Regions from separate parts of the Homo sapiens genome. Here region 2 is linked to region 1. Evidence: promoter capture Hi-C in 16 types of primary human blood cells and fetal thymus (Javierre and others, 2016). All regions are on one chromosome and are shown on one strand. Each heading gives the region's core, a stretch centred on a gene start or on the middle of the fragment in contact. The rest is flanking DNA. Distances are from core to core; before and after follow the strand shown.

Region 1 (4,588 bases), core at 811-3,310:
AAATATCAGAAAAACATAGTAATGTTTTGTATAAACTGAATATTAAAGACTGTTCTACCATTAGAGAGCTTTCTGTCTTGTTAAAGGAAATAAGAGCCAGTTATTCAGCAAAGAAATATATTATCAATGCAGGATTCGTGCAGACAGTAAATGGCTTTGAAATTTGTAATGAGATATGGAGTAGTTCTGTGATTGCTTTGGCAGCACATATGCTAAAATTGGAACAATACAGAGAAGATTAGCATGGCCTCTGCATGAGAATGGCATACAAATTTGTGAAGCATTCTATATTTTTAGCAATATATTGTACTCTTGAAAAATGCTAAGACAGTGAGTGTATTCTTAAATGCATGTTAATATGCAAAAATGCATATGTTCATTGGCTAGATTTAGTCATTCCACGCTGTATACATATTTCAAAACATCATGTTGTACATGATAAATACATACAAGTTTATTTGTTAATTAAAAAACAGAAATGGATTAGTTCTGCCTAAATATACTAGACTCAGAAGTTAATAATAAATGTGCATCCACCCCTTTGTTTAATTTGCCTTGGCTATTAAGTTAACATTTATGCTAAGAACCTTTGGCTGTTATAGTTTCCTATCATTTATTTGGTAAAAAGATTAATTGGAGAGGTGTTTCAATGGCTCCATTAGGAGATATGAAGAAAGCCCCACCATTGCCAGTATTTGGGAACTCAAAGCGTTTATTTTCTAAAGCAGGTGATGCTACATGAATTGCTGTCCACACCTTCTGCTACTTTCCTCTGTTGGCCAGAAGAATAATTTTAATGTCGCCCAAATGGATTATGCTGACCTCAACCCAGATCCCCCTGGGAGATATAAACTTCTTATATGTTCCTGGCTGGGTCATTGTAAATAATATCTACATGTATCCCAAAGCTCTGAATTATCCTCATCTGTAACAGACACAACGACTAAATGGTATCTGGAACGTAGTTAATTTTCTGGAAAATATTCAAAGGAACAAAATGAGCACTGCAATACAAAATTGCTGTCGACTTAACTTTTGCCAGTTTCCCTGGATGTGTAAGTAGAATTATATTTTCACAGAACTTGCAAAAATCTCAGACTCGGCTGCTATTTAATCTCTTTCCAGAAGCACCAGCCCTGAGCAATCCTATCTGCAATTAGCTGCGTGTGGTTGCTACTAAATTGCTCCCCATAAGTTAGTTCCTAACACTGTTTCACAGCACGGCATACTCTATAAAGGGAGAACGCTTGGAAGGACCGAAGAGTTCCCTTTGTCGTGCCCTTGCCCTGCCTCTGGACAACGATGTTCTTACACTGCCGACTAGCTAATCCTGTGACCCTTTTCTTTCAGCACCTTGAGTTTGAGTTAGGCAATACCTCTTACACCAAAGTGGGCACACCTTCGGATCATGTAGGCAGCGATTGTTTAGCCGAGACATCCCCCTACCCCCGCAAAAGGCAGCAGAGAAGCGGCGAACGCCGCTTAGCAGTTGGCGCGCTCTCAGTGCGGGTGACGCGGGGCTGGGTTGGGGTGTTCCGTCCCCGGGTCGTGGGACTCCCCGAGAGGGGGTGGCTGGAGGAGGAGGGAGGGCTTGTTTCGCTGGGGGATGTGGGAAGTAGGCGCTAGCCTGTTTCGCGGTTTTTTAAGCCCCTTGGCATGCCCTGACCTGATCTAGAGGGAGTCTACTGCTCTTAGGAATGTTCCGGGAGAAGGTGGGAGATTGCTTCCCAGGGGAGGCCTGTGGGTGCTGCAGGGCACCAGGGGGGTCACTAGGGAGATGCAGGGCGCGGGCCAGGAGGGGCGCCAGGGCAGCCGGGGGCCAGGCTGAGGCGACCGGGACCAGCGGGCAGCCGGGCGTCGGGGGCGTCGGTCGGGGCGCGGGGGACCCCCCCCCCGGGCGGCAGCGGCAGCGGCGATCCGATCCCGCGGGCTGCGCCGCCCGGGCTGTCAAGCGCGGGGGGCGGGCGGGAGGAAGGGGTGGAGGTGCGAGGGGAGGAGGGCTGGCACCGGAGCGCCGCGGCGTCGGTGCAATAAAAATGCATCGCATGGAACTGCCCGTGGAGAAGGACGGGACGGAGCCGGGGCAGCCAGAAGAGGTGGGAAAAGCGGAGGAGGACGCCCAGGAGGAGGCGGCGGCGGCGGCCGGGAAGTGAAAGGTCTCGCAAAGTTCAGCGGCGGCTGCGGGCGCCGAGCCCCGGGCTAGCGGCAGACGAGCCCGCAGGGCCGCTCCGCGGGGCAGCGCAGCCAGGCCGGCTATGGTCCCGGGGCTCCCGCCGCCCCCCAGGTGCCCGGGACCCGCCAGGCCGGTGCGCGAGGGTCACCCCACCTCCCCGCGCGGTCCCGGCCCCTGGCTCCCAGCTGCCGGCGACCGCTGACCGAGCCCGGCGCCCCAGGAGGAGGAAGAAACCAGGGCCCCGTTCCCTCCCGAGGACGGCGGCGCTTCATCCCGCAGCCCAGAGGTCTCGGCTCCCTCCGGCACCCGCCCGGCCCGGCTGCTCCCGGCTCCTCCCGGCCATGGGGAGCTGCGCGCGGCTGCTGCTGCTCTGGGGCTGCACGGTGGTGGCCGCAGGTGGGTGGTGACGCGGCGGGGCCCCCACCCCTTCCCTCGCTGCTTCTCTAACCCATCTCGGGACTCGGGGGTGCAGGGGAGCCAGGGCTGCGAGCGCAGAGCGCTGCTCCCGAGGGTGAAATGAGTGGCCATGTTCCGCCTCCTTTCCCCGGGGCTCCGCAGTTTCAAATACTATTGATTTATTTTTACAACTGGGATACACATGCGCTTGGATAACCAGCTATCCTGGGTGCGCCCTGCCGGGGATACTGCGACCGGGGTTTCTTTCTTGGTTTGGCTTGTTAAAAAACTGCTTTTCCACTTGGTGAGGGAACAAAGGACCCAGCTCGCCATCCCCCGGCACTTCATGGCCTAAGGAATGATGAGGAGGGGTGGCCCAGCGACCCTGGGCGCGCGTGGGCTGGGGCCGGTCTCTGGTAGAAGCCCATCGCTGGTGTCCCTGACCTGGTGCTGGGTACTAGAGAACCAGGTAAGGACACCTGGGGCAGGGCTGAGCGCCCTCTCCCCGGAGCAGTGACTGGAACGCAGTGGGACTCCTGGCTTGGACGATAGGTGGTGATCACCCCGGGCTTGCATTGAGCTGGCTGGCCGCCCCTGGGGAATTGGTACCCTGGCAGAGACTCTGCGGGAGGTCGGAGGCGGGTCTGCTCCCTGGCTCGGTAACTGGACAACCGGCGTCGGCGTCGGCAGATGCCCTCTCCCTCCCACTCCCATCCTGGCTTTCTTGGGCTGCCCTAGGCCACCGGCTCCTGGCTCGTGGTTTCTGTATTCGGGAGCCCCTTCTGCTCCTCTCCCTCCCTCTTGCGGGTCACCTGGTTTCCAGTTAGGCGTAAGCGCAGCCCTGTAGGTGAGGGGGAGAGATGTGAGGGAGTCTGCAGACATCCAGTCTCTCGTGCGGATCTTGACTGCTTCAGAAAGGGGCGCCTGGGCTAGAGGGATGCGCTGGTGGCTACAGAACATTGTAGCACGCATCTCCTCCCTTGGGCTTCCACTCTTCCCTGAGGGCCGCTGGCACCCAGCAAAATCCAGGCTTTCCAGTCTGCATCCCAAACCAGTCCAAGTCACAGGAGCATCCTTAGTATCATTGAATAGTCCCTTGAGTGACTCCAAGTATTTTGCCCCATGGATTCTTTATCTGGCTCAAATCTTTTCTGGACTTAGGAGTTTAGGGGCATTTAAAATTATTGGATATTTTTCCCAGGGACCTATTAAAGGCCTAAGATTTTACTTTAATTCTTGCACTCTTAAAATATGAGCTTTAAAAAAAACCTTTTCCTTCTCAAACCATATTATGGCAAAAACATGCAAGCCATTGAAAGGTTGTAAATAAACATCACAAGGCAAGTGTTTCAAGTCAAAAATACTTGTACAGGCAGTATATGATTTTCCTTGAAATTTTTTACAGGTGAGTCATAGCACATTGTGTGTTTGTGTGCTTCTGGCCACAAGCAACTGTTGCCCCAGCTAATGAGAAAAGTGGCAAACAGAACCCAGGCATAATGCACACTTTAATTTGACATTTAAAAAATAATGCCTAAGGAAGCCCTTTAGTTGCAAGGCTTCGTGGGGTTGGCCATTGTCAGTGTGTGAAATGTCTCTGTTGCAGCCTAAGCTGTCATTTGGCCTCCTCCAATCCTTACTATGACAACAGTTCAGAGGTACTGCTTCTTAAGCAGCAGAAACATTCAATTAGCCAGAATTTAAGGGTTGATTTCCTTTTCCCTCTTTCCCCCTCTGTTTTAACCTTTAAAATAGATGATTTTTGCTTAAGGTATTCACAATTAAAATGACAAACGCAAATCAAAGGATTATAGTATGTACTCAGAATGTTAATAAGTGGATAATGTTTATCATTTTAAGTCATTTTAAAACATTAAAGTCTGTTGGACCTTTGGGAGGAAAAGTGTGTTTTTTAAAGAAGGTCTTGTAGTTCACAGATAATATTTAAAGGTGCTGTTAGTGGCTGCCAGACTGTAGACACTCTCCTGTTAAGCAAACAGTTAACTACTCTATAACCTG
Region 2 (4,588 bases), core at 1,554-4,053, 120 kb after region 1:
TTCTCTGCATCTTTTGAGAAAATCAGATGGTTTTCCTCCTGTAATCTATCAATGTGGTATTTGAAAATAATTTTTTTCCGGTATCAAACTATTCTTTTTTTTTTTTTTTTTTTACTTTAAGTTCTAGGATACATGTGCAGAGTGTGCAGGTTTGTTACATAGGTATACATGTGCCATAGTGGTTTGCTGCACCTATCAACCCCTCATCTAGGTTTTAAGCCCTGCACGCATTAGGTATTTGTCCTAATGCTCTCCCTCCCCTCGCCCCCCACACCCCTAATAGGCCCCAGTGTGTGTTGTTCCCCTACCTGTGTCCATGTGTTCTCATTGTTCAACTCCCACTTATAAGTGAGAATATATGGTGTTTGGTTTTCTGTTCCTGTGTTAGTTTGCTGAGAATGATGGCTTCCAGCTTCATCCACGTCCCTGCAAAGGACATGAACTCATCCTTTTTTATGGCTGCGTAGTATTCCATGGTGTATATGTGTCACATTTTCTTTATCCAGTCTATCATTGATGGTCATTTGGGTTGGCTCCAAGTCTTTGCTATTGTAAATAGTGCTGCAATAAACATACGTGTGCAGGTGTCTTTATAGTAGAATGATTTAGAATCCTTTGGGTGTATACCCAGTAATGGGATTGCTGGGCCAAATGATATTTCTGGTTCTAGACCCTTGAGGAATCACCACACTGTCTTCCACAATGGTTGAACTAGTTTACACTCCTGCCAACAGTGTAAATGCATTCCTATTTCTCTACAGCCTTGCCAGCATCTGTTGTTTGTCAGAATGGCAATTATTATCAAGCTATTCTTTTAGTCTTAGGATAAGTTTTATTTGCTGTGATGTATTTTTATTCATACGTTGCTGAATTTGATCTGCTAGGGTTTTTATCTTTCATTTATTTATTTGCTTGCTTAGGATTTTCATATTGATGTTTATAACTGATATTGGCCTATAATTTAATGTATTGCATTGTATATTTGAGAAAGTTAGGAGGTCCCCTTACCCACTACGTTTTTTTTCTATTCTCTGCAATTATTTATATAAAAATAGAATCATCTGTTACTTGAATTTTTGTTAGAATTTATCTATAAAACCATTGAGACACAGTGTCTATGAGTAGACGAAAGTATTACTGATTCAATATCTGTCATGGTTATTAATTTGTTTTATTTGTGATTTGGTGTTGGTAATCAAAGTTTTCTAGAAAATTACCGATTCTTTTTTTTTTTGAGTTGGAGTCTCACTCTGTCACCCAGGCTGGAGTGCAGTGGTGCAATCTCGGCTCACTGCAACCTCTGCCTCCCGGGTTCAAGCAATTCTCAGCCTCCCAAGTAGCTGGGACTACAGGCGCATGCCACCATGCCCAGCTAATTTTTTGTATTTTTAGTAGAGATGGGGTTTCACAGTGTCAGCCAAGATGGTCTAGATCTCCTGACCTTAAGATCCACCCACCTCAGCCTCCCGAAGTGCTGGGATTACAGGCGTGAGCCACCTTGCCCAGCCACCAATTATTTTAATTTTAAAAAATTGTATTGGCATAGAGTTATACATGGTATTCACTCATAATTTATTTAACCTTTACTCAATCTGTCCTTAATCTTCTTTTTGTCCCTAAGCTTATCTGTGCCTTTTTTCTTATTGTCTTATACTGATCTTAATTTGCTTCTCTCAGAGATTAACTTTTGGTTAACTTGATCCAACCTATTTAATTTTTCTTTATTTCACTAATTCTGCTCTTATCTTTATTTTTTTTTTATGTTTTCTCTAAGTTTGCTTTTTTAGTCCTTTTCTGCCTTTGTGAGTCCAGTGATTATTAACTCACTTACTTTTAGTCTTTCTTATTTTTAGCAAGTACTCTTAAGGTTATACATTTCCTTATAAGATCTTTTAGCTGGATCCTATTGGCCTTTATATGTAGTATCTTCATTATCATTCAAGTTCTAATGTTTTTCTAATTTCCATTAAGAATTTCGCTTTAATCCATTGAGTTGTCTAGGATATTTAATTGTTCAAACATCAGGGTTTTTAGAATATTTTTTTTTTTTACCCGGGGCTGGGCACAGTGGCTCACACCTGCAATCCCAGCACTTTGGGAGGCCGAAGTGGGTGGATCACCTGAGGTCAGGAGTTGGAGACCAGCCTGGCCAACATGACAAAACCCCGTCTCTACTTAAAAATACAAAAAAATTAGCTGGGTGTGGTGGCGCGTACCTGTGATCCCAGCTACTTGGGAGGCTAAGGCAGGAGAATCACTTGAACCTGGAAGGCAGAGGTTGCAGTAAAGTGAGATCAGGCTACTGCACTCCAGCCTGGGTGACAGAGGGAGACTCCATCTCAAAAACAAAAAAACAAAAAAGAATATTTGTTTACTGATTATCTCTAATCTAATTTCATTGTATTATATCTATTCTTTGAAAACCAGGAGGGCAACTTGGATTCATTTCTAGGTCACTTAAGGACTAGCTACATAATTTGCAGGACTAGATGCTGGATGAAATGCAGAGCCCTTTTTAAGAATGTCATCAAGTGGCCATGAATAATAGTTTGGAGTTTTGTGTACGTGGTTGGTTTATTGTTTTTTCCCAGCCTCCTTTCATTAGCAAGGAGAGCCTTACCCAATCTGTCTTTAAAAAGTGAGTCTGACTGTGATCTCTTTTTTGTCCTATTAACTCCTTTGTATCTGAACTCCTGACCACTGCTGCCTGATTCTGAAAGCGGACCCCAAAGCCCTATCCCCCGAATGCACATTCATTCATTTCTTTTCTTTCTTTACATTTTTTTTAAATTCAAGAAGTATCAACAAATTGAAAACATTCATTTCTAGTCCACAGAGATAAATATCTAGTTTTTGATGCAGGCTATGTCTTTTTTTCCGTCCTTTATCTAATATTGCTATGTGCTTGGAGCTGAGGATGTGCTGAAGTATGAATTCACAAAGTTGTGTTGATTGAGAATGTCTGTGATAATTTTCCCAACATTTTATTATGAAAAATTTCAGACATCCAGAAAAGTTTTAGAAGTTGTGCATTCACATACCCGCCACCTAAATTCTATCCACCCATCAATCCACATTTTAGATCAGAAAGAAATCACAGTTTTAAAACCTTCTCATAGAGAACATATGGACCCTTCAAGAATCAAGAACCTAAATCTGAGAAACAAGGTTATTTGCCCATCTGTATCATGGTTTTTTCACTTAACATAATCTCGTGATAATTTTCCTAATGGCTTCATGTTCAATCACAACAGGAAAGAAGGTGCGAAAGAGAAGGCAACATGAAGTTATCATATTTATCTTTTCAGCATTTGAAAAAGAAAACAAGTCTTTACTATGAATTTTTTTTGCCTTAATGCTATGTAGTCTGGAATTTTATGATTTTAACTTTAATAGCCACTTTTAAAGGTGTTCTTCTATTTTTCTAAGCACACAATGACTTTTTATAATTCTCCAAGTTTGCTAAACCAAATCTGTAATAATCCAGTTTTTAGGACTATAGGACATTCACTAAGCCCATCATGCATGTTATTAGAGAGTTGGCAGCATTCCAGCCAAGCACATAAAGTGCTGGCACCAGAATGACTGCAGACTCTCATGTCCACAGCAGCTGTTAGGTCTGTGATGTCCCCAGAGAGTCTCTGAAATTCATCTGGATGAACGCCAGATTGAGGAAGACTTTATTGAGTTCCCTGCATTGGGTATAGAATGGTGCTTCTGAGCACCTTTTTCAACAAGTGTTCTAAGCACTGAAAACAATCTACCTACCTATATACCTCCCATAAGTTTCCATAAAAACAGCTTTCAACTAGGAGTATAATATACTTTACCAACAAAACACCCTTAATTTCTACCACTTCTTATACCAGATGTAAAATTTCACTTCCTAAATAACAAAACTGGCCTTAACTAGTACCACAGAACTGTAAACAATGCTCTTTTTTTTTTTAATGTCCTAATAACCTAGCATAACTAAACAAGCTTTTCTTCCCTTCCAGATTTCTTTTAAGAAAACACATCTGGGCTGAAGCCTGATCAACAAATATTGTTTGAGCTCTAAGCATATGAAAAAGAAGTATTGGAAAGCAGCCAAAGAAAGGTCATCAAACAATAGACCTATGTCTGCTCTTCTAGGCTGAAGGGTTAAAGAGAAAAGCATTGTGTTGAGGAACAGTATATGCCATTTGGAGTTCCATTAGGTTTTATAGCACAGTAGTTACTGTACTCTTCTGCTTTGTGGAATTATCAAAGGCCATAGGCTATTCACTTAGGTTACTACAATTTCTTTTCTTTTTTTTTTGGCAGAGTCTCACTTTGTTGTCCAGGCTGGAGTGCAGTGGTGCCATCATGGCTTACTGCAGCCTTGACCTCCTGGGCTCAAGCAATCCTCCCACCTCAGTGCCACCAATGCTCCCCTCCACGGGTAGCTGGGACTACAGGCACATACTACCACACCAGGCCAATTTTTTTAATTGCACATAACTCCTTTATTATACTCATTCCTGGAGAAAGGATTTAGTACAGTGATGCTCAAATGAGCACTGGACCCATGTGGCCGAGCAACTAGAACATGATTCAGAAATCAGTC

Evidence for each region. Contacts are between HindIII fragments. The CHiCAGO score rates a contact against its expected background, and 5 or more counts as called.
Region 2: a contact is called between a fragment that was not itself captured here and the fragment with the promoter of NTN4 in region 1, in 1 of 17 cell types (endothelial precursors). The highest score is 5.9, in endothelial precursors.

The regions. Positions count from the first base shown.
Region 1 is chr12:95,788,236-95,792,823 of GRCh38, reverse strand. It overlaps NTN4 (netrin 4), which reads left to right and starts at 2,060. Exons shown (of 10, transcript NM_021229.4): 1 at 2,060-2,569. The coding sequence starts at 2,515. It also overlaps the pseudogene RNU6-247P. The HindIII fragment of the contact is 5,039 bases long and covers 1-4,588 here.
Region 2 is chr12:95,673,875-95,678,462 of GRCh38, reverse strand. All of the region lies in intron 7 of NTN4 (netrin 4), which reads left to right. It also overlaps the pseudogene PGAM1P5. Among named protein-coding and RNA genes, the nearest start is that of NTN4, 110 kb to the left of the region's middle. The HindIII fragment of the contact is 2,360 bases long and covers 1,624-3,983 here.